Linked DNA regions of Homo sapiens: regions 2 and 3 are each linked to region 1. Evidence: promoter capture Hi-C in 16 types of primary human blood cells and fetal thymus (Javierre and others, 2016). All regions are on one chromosome and are shown on one strand. The core of a region is centred on a gene start or on the middle of the fragment in contact, and the rest is flanking DNA. Distances in the headings are between cores, read along the strand shown.

Evidence for each region. Contacts are between HindIII fragments. The CHiCAGO score rates a contact against its expected background, and 5 or more counts as called.
Region 2: a fragment that was not itself captured here is called in contact with the fragment with the promoter of NOM1 in region 1 in 1 of 17 cell types (total CD8 T cells); the score reaches 5.6 in total CD8 T cells.
Region 3: a fragment that was not itself captured here is called in contact with the fragment with the promoter of NOM1 in region 1 in 1 of 17 cell types (megakaryocytes); the score reaches 6.5 in megakaryocytes.

Annotation. Positions count from the first base shown.
Region 1 is chr7:156,948,359-156,951,091 of GRCh38, forward strand. NOM1 (nucleolar protein with MIF4G domain 1) reads left to right here and starts at 1,354. Exons shown (of 11, transcript NM_138400.2): 1 at 1,354-2,366. The coding sequence starts at 1,380. RefSeq lists an enhancer at 506-1,034 and silencers at 1,095-1,444, 1,725-1,774. The HindIII fragment of the contact is 6,978 bases long and covers 329-2,733 here.
Region 2 is chr7:157,378,478-157,381,210 of GRCh38, forward strand. All of the region lies in intron 5 of DNAJB6 (DnaJ heat shock protein family (Hsp40) member B6), which reads left to right. Among named protein-coding and RNA genes, the nearest start is that of DNAJB6, 43 kb to the left of the region's middle. The HindIII fragment of the contact is 2,083 bases long and covers 290-2,372 here.
Region 3 is chr7:157,209,115-157,211,847 of GRCh38, forward strand. The region is part of intron 13 of UBE3C (ubiquitin protein ligase E3C); the gene reads left to right. Among named protein-coding and RNA genes, the nearest start is that of UBE3C, 72 kb to the left of the region's middle. The HindIII fragment of the contact is 1,728 bases long and covers 509-2,236 here.

The DNA of each region.
Region 1 (2,733 bases), core at 104-2,603:
TATTTAAAAAAATTCGTAAAACCTATAAGGAAAATGGACAAAGGCCATAAACAGAGGAGGAAATACAAATGGCCAGTGAACAAAGACACCCACTCTCATCAGGAACTAAATGACAAGATGCCATTTTGAGCTGACAAGTTGACAAAAATTAAATCATTTTAAAGTCAAGGACGGGCCGGGCGCGGTGGCTTGCCTGTAATCCCAGCACTTTGGTCCGCCATTGCACTCCGGCCTGGGCAACAGAGTGAGACTCGGTCTCAAGAAAAAAAAAAGAAAAAAAATTAAATTAAATTAAATTAAGTCAAGGGTGGGAACTCTGTGGAAATGAAGCTTCTGAAGCTGTCCGGGAAGAGAAGCGGCCCCTGGTCAGGCCGAGAACCCCACAGCAGCAGCCCCGTCTTCCCCCAGCTCACTGCTAGGCGAGGCTGCTCCTGCGCCTCCGGGCTTCCCAAAAATCCAGACGCAAACTGCGCGGCCTCTGCGTTCGCTTCCCGGTTCAAGTTACCCAGTAAAGAGGAACCTCAAACGCTCTGCCCTCGGGGCCCAGCGTCCAAACCCAGCCTGGGCAGGGCCGGCTCCTCAGGGGTCCTCGGCCGCCTGGGGGCCACAGGCGTCTCCCTGGTCCGTATCCAGAGCCTGCTTCTCAGGAGAACGCTGGCTCTGGGGCCAGTCCTAACCCACGAGGGCTCCTCTCGACCACATCTGCAAAGGCCCTATTTCCAAATAAGGTCGCATTCCTGGGTCCTGGGCGGACACGAACCTGGGGCCCGCGCATCCCAGCGTCGTCGCCGCCGCCAACCTCCGGCACCGCGCCGACCCGCGCGGAGTCTCCCCTCCATCATACGCGAGGATTTCCCTTTGGAGTCTCGCTCTGTCGCCCAGGCTGGAGTGCAATGGCGCCATTTCGGCTCACTGCAACCTCCGCCTCCGTGGTTCAAGCGATTCTCCTGCCTCAGCCTCCGAGTAGCTGGGATTACAGGCGCGTGCCCCCACGCTCAGCTAATTTTTGTAGGGGGGTGGGTGGGTTTCACCAGGTTGGCCAGGCTGGTCTCGAACTCCTGACTTCAGGTGATCCACCCGTCTCGGCCTCCCAAAGTGCTGGGATTACAGGCGTGAGCCACCGCGCCCGGCCGGATTTCCCTTTTAAATGTGAAGGCACCTCCATGCTCATCGCGAGCCTGACGTCCACGCGGCGCCCACCCGCGGGCGCGCCTGCCCCGGGCGCCACCTGCCCGGCTGCCCCCGCACCCGGCTCCGCGCAGCTCTGCACGCTGTCGCCCTCCGGCCAGCAGGGGGCGCCGCCCGCCCGCCCCGCGCAGCCGCCTCTTCCCCGGAAGTCCCGCCTCGGCCGGAAGTCGTGCGTCCACGCGTTTCGAAAGATGGCGGCGTCCAGGAGCGCGGGAGAGGCCGGCCCGGGCGGCTCCCAGGGACGCGTGGTCCGCATGAAGCGCAGAGGCGGGCGCGGGCCGCGCCGCGGTCCTGCTGGCGGTGGGGAGAAGGCCCTGAAGAGGCTGAAGCTAGCGGTGGAGGAGTTCGTGCACGCGACTTCGGAAGGCGAGGCTCCCGGGGGTTGCGAGGGGCGCGGCGCCCCGGTGAGCTTTCGCCCGGGAGGGAGAAAAAGCCGTAAGGAACTGAGGAAGGAGAAGCGGCACCTGCGGAAAGCACGCCGGCTGCAGAGGACGGCGGGCCCCGAACAGGGTCCCGGCCTGGGAGGCCGAAGCGGAGCCGAAGAAGCCAGCGGTCACCGGCAGGACACGGAGGAGCGCGCCCGCCCAGCCCCTAGTCGGGACCCCTCGCCTCCCAGGAAGCCGCGGCCGTCCCGGGTCAAGGCCAAGGCCACGGCCGCCACCGCAAAGACCAGACCCTCCGCAGCCGCCACCGCCGCTGCCCGGAAACGGGCGCTTTTAGCGGCGAACGAGGAGGAGGACCGAGAGATCCGAAAGCTGGAGCGTTGCCTCGGTTTGAACAAGCGCAAAAAGAAGGACGGCAGCAGCTCCGTGCCGCTGAGCTTTGCACGCGACGGTCTTGACTATATTCTGGGAGCCCTGGAGTCTGGGAAAAATAGCGGCTTGTACGACAGCAGTGGTGAGGAGGAGGAAGATGCCGGACAGACACTCCCCGAAAGTGACTTAGAGAGTGACTCCCAGGACGAAAGTGAGGAGGAGGAGGAGGGAGACGTAGAAAAGGAAAAGAAGGCGCAGGAAGCAGAAGCGCAGAGCGAGGACGACGACGAGGATACAGAAGAGGAACAGGGGGAAGAAAAGGAAAAGGGAGCGCAGGAGAAAAGGAGGGGGAAGAGAGTCCGTTTTGCAGAAGATGAAGAAAAGAGTGAAAATTCCTCGGAGGACGGTGACATAACGGATAAGGTATCGTGTGAACACTCTCTAGGCCCTCTGGGATTTCCTTCAAAATAACGGGACAGGGAATGGGGCGTGAGGCAGAAATGACACAGACTTGGTGTCTTGATAATGGTTTCAGCTGAATGTGAGTAAATCGAGTACGTTACTCTATTCGGTCTTCTTTCATGTTTTTAAATTTTCATAATGTAAAGTTTAGGAGAAAAGCAATATAGAGACATTTTTATCCCGGGGACTTAAGGGCCATTTCCACAGTGCAGCATCTTCATTCTGTGTTTACCAGCCCAGGTCTCTAAACCTGTTAACCCTACCTCATCTGTTAAGGCCTCTTTCGAGTATCCGAGGACATCTGCCGTGCCCGACTTTTAGAGTGAAT
Region 2 (2,733 bases), core at 81-2,580, 430 kb after region 1:
GTCGGAGCCCCACGGGAGCATTGTAGCACGCGCTGTATGGTTGTGCGTTGTAGCGTGCGCTGTATAGTTGTGATGCCCACAGGCTTCCTTGCATTTCTCTCCAGCTCTGCTAGCCACGAACACTTCAAGTCTGCACTTCACATGCTTGCTTGCCTGTGCATGGTTACGCACGCTCAGCAACTTAGTTCCACGTTTTGGGATGAGTTGAGTTCCCTGACGTAGAATTGCTGGGTTGAGGGTTTTTTATAATAAAAATATTGGTTTTATTTTGGGGGCTGAAGGTTTTAAAAGCTTAATACATACTTCTAGATTGCTTTTCAAAACGACAGAAACCAGCACATGATAAGTAGCTCTTACTTGAAATAAGGACTTGTCTGATCTCAAGTGGCAACTTTTAACTGGTCTTTAAATATTATAAATTTTGAAATTATTTTAATGTTTCTTAGCACTGTTTCTGTTACAAATGAGACTTCATTTTTAGGGTAATTTGTGATTTTAATATTTGAAATTATACGAGTTAAAATTCAGTGAATACCTGAATTGTGAAAAATTATATTTAAGCTACAAAATGTCAGTAGAGAAATAAACAAGATAAAGATTTTTTTCATACAAGAAAATGGAACGGAAAAGCATTGGCCTTCTCATAACATAGTACTCAGCCAGCTTTTGAGGTAGCTTCTGTAGATGATGATATAATTATGAATGTCATTGTCTTAATTTAGCTTAGAATGCAAACCAGTTAAAATCACTTGGTTAGTACTGTTACCACTGAGACACGGGTTCAAGATGCATGTAAAAGCTCAGTGCCTTGTGGACAACTTCTAAGGGTTTAGTTGCCATGGATTTAAAGAAATTGTGACTAAACCAATGTTTTAGCATTGATAAATGGGAAATTGCGGAAGGATGTAAACGTAGAGTTTAACTCTACAACTTGGCTTAGGGACTCAGGTATGGACAGTGAGAATAACTTGGTTTAGGGACTCAGATATGGACAGTGAGACTGGCCACATGAGTGCCTTTCTCACTGTCACACTCTTACCCAGGTTGGAGTGCAGTGGCTGTCGACAGGTGTGATCATAGCTCCCTGCAGCCTTGAATTCCTGGGCTCAAGCAGTCCTGCCTCAGCCTCCCAAGGAGGTGGGACTAAAGATGGTGTGCCACCACACCTGGCTAATTTTTAAATTTATTGTAGAGAAGGGGTCTTGCTATGTTGCCCAGGTTGGTCTTGAACCCCTGACCTCCAGGGATCTCTCCTGCCTTGGCCTCCTCAGGAGCTGGAACTACAGATATATGCTAATGTCTTCAATTTATGGAAATGCAGAAATGCCTTTTTTTTTTTTTTTTTTTTTTTTGAGATGGACTCATGTTCTGCTGCCCAGGCTGGAGTGCTGTGGTGTGATCTTAGCTCACTGTATCCTCCACCTCCGGGGTTCAAGCAATTTTCGTGCCTCAGCCTCCTGGGTGGCTGAGACTACAGATGCCCACCACCACTCCTGGCTAACTTTTTTGTATTTTTAGTAGAGACAGGGTTTTACCATGTTGGCCAGGCTGGTCTCAAACTCCTGACCTCAAGTGATCTGCCCGCCTCGGCCTCCCAAAGTACTGGGATTATAGCTGTGAGCCACTGCACCCTCCCGGAAATGCTTTTTAACGGTCACCTCCTAGGGGAGATGAAGAGAGTTACCGCATAATCAGTTTTAACTGTATTTGTAATGTTTGTTTCTTTACCTGGGAGGATATGTTGTAGATACGTGAGATAGAATACCTAAGTGACACAATGGTGTGCAGGCTATGGCTGCAAAGTAGAAAGTTTCTAAATAGCATGCTTGGATTTTTATTTGAATTGGATGAAGTTTTTGTGTCCTAGAGAAATTCACAAAATGTTCCTAGTTTCAGATAAAAGGTTATGATTTAACATCTTTGCTTTTGTTCTTTCTTGTCTTTGAATAGAACAGTGGGGGACGGTAAGGTCTGTTTGCAAAGTACCTATGACCATCTTACATTATTTTTATGGGTGGGGGGCATTGACTGTGGAATGTGGGCAGTAACTTGCACAGTCAGTAACCGTTTGAGTAACTTCTTGTTGGCATCCCCATTCTGGCACTCCTCCTCTAGGTCTCCACCTCACACGCTGGTTTGTGGGCGGAGGGGCAGGTTGGTGCGTGGGGTGTCCGGGCACTGGCTGTGCATGCCTTCTTCCTCTTCTGTCTCTTGGCCACCTTTTCCAAAAAGTCACCAGTGACCAATTCTCCCAGTGTTTCTTTGGGACTCAATGCCTTGGGCTTGGCATTGGGTAAAGCCAACTGGCCAGTTTCATTCTGACGAGCTCTATAGTAGTCCGGTGTGGACCTCTGCCCTCCCTGCTCTGCGGAAGCTTCCTCAGCCTTTGCTTCTCACTATTTACTATTTGCGGGTCCTGGGGGTACCCAGCGTCTCAGGGTTTTGGCTGCCCACCTGTACGTCGGTCCTTTCAAACTGTGGTCAGAGTCAACCTCAGGTGCTGCTTTTCTCTAGTCACTGCATTTTTTTTTTTTAGTAGAGACAAAGTCTTGCTGTGTTGTCCAGCCTGGATTCAAACTCCTGAGCTCAAGGAATCCTCCCACTCAGCCTCCAGAGTAGCTGGATCAAGTCACTCTTGTTCATAACCTCAGTTGCTTCATGAATCTCGATTTCTGCTTGATTTCAGTGCTTGCTGTTGTATCCTTGTGTGCTGCAGTATTTATTGTTAACATT
Region 3 (2,733 bases), core at 123-2,622, 260 kb after region 1:
AGAAAGATGTCAAGCTAGACTTTAGGAAGGGCCCATTAATGCTTGCACTTAACCTGATGGGCTAATTAAGGAATGCTTATTCATCCTCCAAGTCCACGAGAGTCTCTCTCCAGCCCGTTCTGCCTGGTTTTACAACACATTTCTCTTAGGAGCATGAGCATTAGCAGCAGCAGCCGTAACTGATAATGTTTTGATTGCACTGAATACAGTCCTAATGCATCGTTGAATTTATAATTTGGGCAGATTGATGTAATATATGTTTGCACAATTTATTTTAATTACCTATTTCTGTATTCCTAAGTAAACTGGGACGGTCACATGGTAAGCCTTTACTATATCCTTTCTTAAAGATTGACAAATTTGCAATTTTTCTATGTTAAAAAATAAGCAGTCTCACCTATTTAAAACTTATAATTCTTACATAAGCTTTTCCTGGATGTGGGTGTTAACGGTAGCATATTTGTTTTCCTTTCAATATTTGATTAAACCCTGGGGTCTTTGTTAATAAAGCTTTCCATGATGTGCAATATCAGGTGTTGTGTATGATATCAGATAATTTCACTGTTTTATGGCATCTGTTGAGAGTTTCATAATTTCCATGACAGGCTTATCTTTAGTATGTAGAAATCTCTGAACTTAATAATGCCATATAAGATATTTTCCACCCTGGCCTTATTTTGTTTTGGTTAAGCGTTAAATGAAAAGTTTGTACAGAATTTTTTTATGCCTCAAAATGACTCCCTGCCACTTTATTCATCATTGAAAGTTTTAAGAGTTAGGGCAAGGCCGGGTGTGGTGGCTCACGCCTATAATCCCAGCACTTTGGGAGGCCAAGGCGGGTGGATCACGAGGTCAGGAGTTTGAGACCAGCCTGGCCAAGATGGTGAAACCCCATCTCTACTAAAGATACAAAAAATTAGCTGGGCGTGATGTACGCCTGTAATCCCAGCTACTAGGGAGGCTGGGGCAGGAGAATTGCTAGAACCCGGGAGGCAGAGGTTGCAGTCAGCCGAGATAGCGCCACTGCACTCCAGCCTGGGCGGTAGGGTGACTCTCTCTCCAAAAAAAAAGAGGGTGAAAATTTACCTTTTTTTTGTTGGTGGTGGTGATTGTTTTAGGTTTGAAATCAAGTTGTTGTAAGACCTTTTGAGTTTAGAATTGTTTAAAGACCTTTTTTTTTTTAAAGGATTTCTGTTCTTTGGTCACCTGTCCCCCAAACCATTTTATGCTACCTGCTATTGAGCTGAGCCCCCAAAATAAAAATCACTGCATAATTTTTGAGTAATCAGCTGCTGTTAGCTGTTCTTTTAAGAAAATACTATCTCTATTATGAAGTTGTATGAACTTACACCTCTGTAGTTAACTGTGTTTTAGGCAGTATTCTAAGAGTTTTGCATATATTCATTTAATACAATAGTTCTGTGAGAAAGATACTATAATTTGTTTTACAGATGAGGTCATGTATATGATGGTAGAACCAGCTGCTATTCTACACTCCCCTTCTGAAAAGAATACAAATTGTATCAGCATTTTTCATATTATTGTTGTGCCAAATTTGAGTTGAAGAATTCGAGGTAGAATCAACCAAAGAACGCAGAAGCGTTTAGCCCATGATCTCCTGCCTTCCATTGATTTTGACAGAATTGCAAACGATGAGACCTGACTCCTTCAACACCGACCATTTTCATTTTTCAGTCCTATCATGGTCCTCCCAAAGTCATTTGTGTGAGAGGCTCTGCTGGCTGGTCACAGAGCATAGAATTTTAAGTGGATAGAGTCATCTTTCTTTGTCACTGTAAGAATTGAGGTCACTTTCTAAGCCCTGTCTTGACACTGCTAAAACAGTTTATGCATTTATCAAATTTATAAACTCCTCTTGAAGTGTAATTTAGAGCTATAATTACTTTAGCTTGATGAGATAGGAAATCCTGTTTTGAGATGTCTGTGTGCATCCACCAAACTTAACAGGAGTTTCCTCCTGTGATAGGGAAACAGGAGGAAGTGGCAGGGAATGAGGAGGAAGGTTCCCATGCCCTCATTATCCATATGTCTGGAGAGAGAGAGAGAGAGAGAGAGAGAGCCATACTATGAGTGATTTTTTTACTTCCTTAGTGGTTAAGTTGTATTTTTTCAGTTCCAAAAAGCTATTTTTAAAAAGTAATAAAGCAACAGCAGTGCCCTGTTAATATAATCCTAACATGCGACCATTTGACTATGTTACAACCAAGAGATCCAAAGCTTGTAGCGCTGTGCCTTATCCTTTTCTGTTATTGAAGATTTTGATTGATTTTGTTTTTGTTTTTTGACTACTAAAGTGGATGCTATATGCAGTAATTTTATAGTGTTTTAAATATGTGCTGAAGAATACTGTTTTTCAAAATACTCCAGTTTTTAACCCGTTTGTGCCAGAGGTTGCGAATTTTTTGTGTGAAAAATCAGGCCTTGGCAATGACCTTGAGCAGTAGAATATAAATCCCACAAGCTTAGCGTTCCAGTAATGGAACACTAGGCATAAATGGGTTAACAAGTGGTAACTAAGGGCTATATAAAATTTGGTTAACCCTTGACAGCAGCAGTGCATACCAGATACTTCATGACTTTCATAGGTTAGAGTGTTTTATTCTCAGTTATTTGAACACTCACAGTATTCATCCCACCCATAGTGACACAGCTCTATGCTAAGGGATCATAAATGAATTCACACAGGGTGCCTGTTCCTGCAGTATCACCACG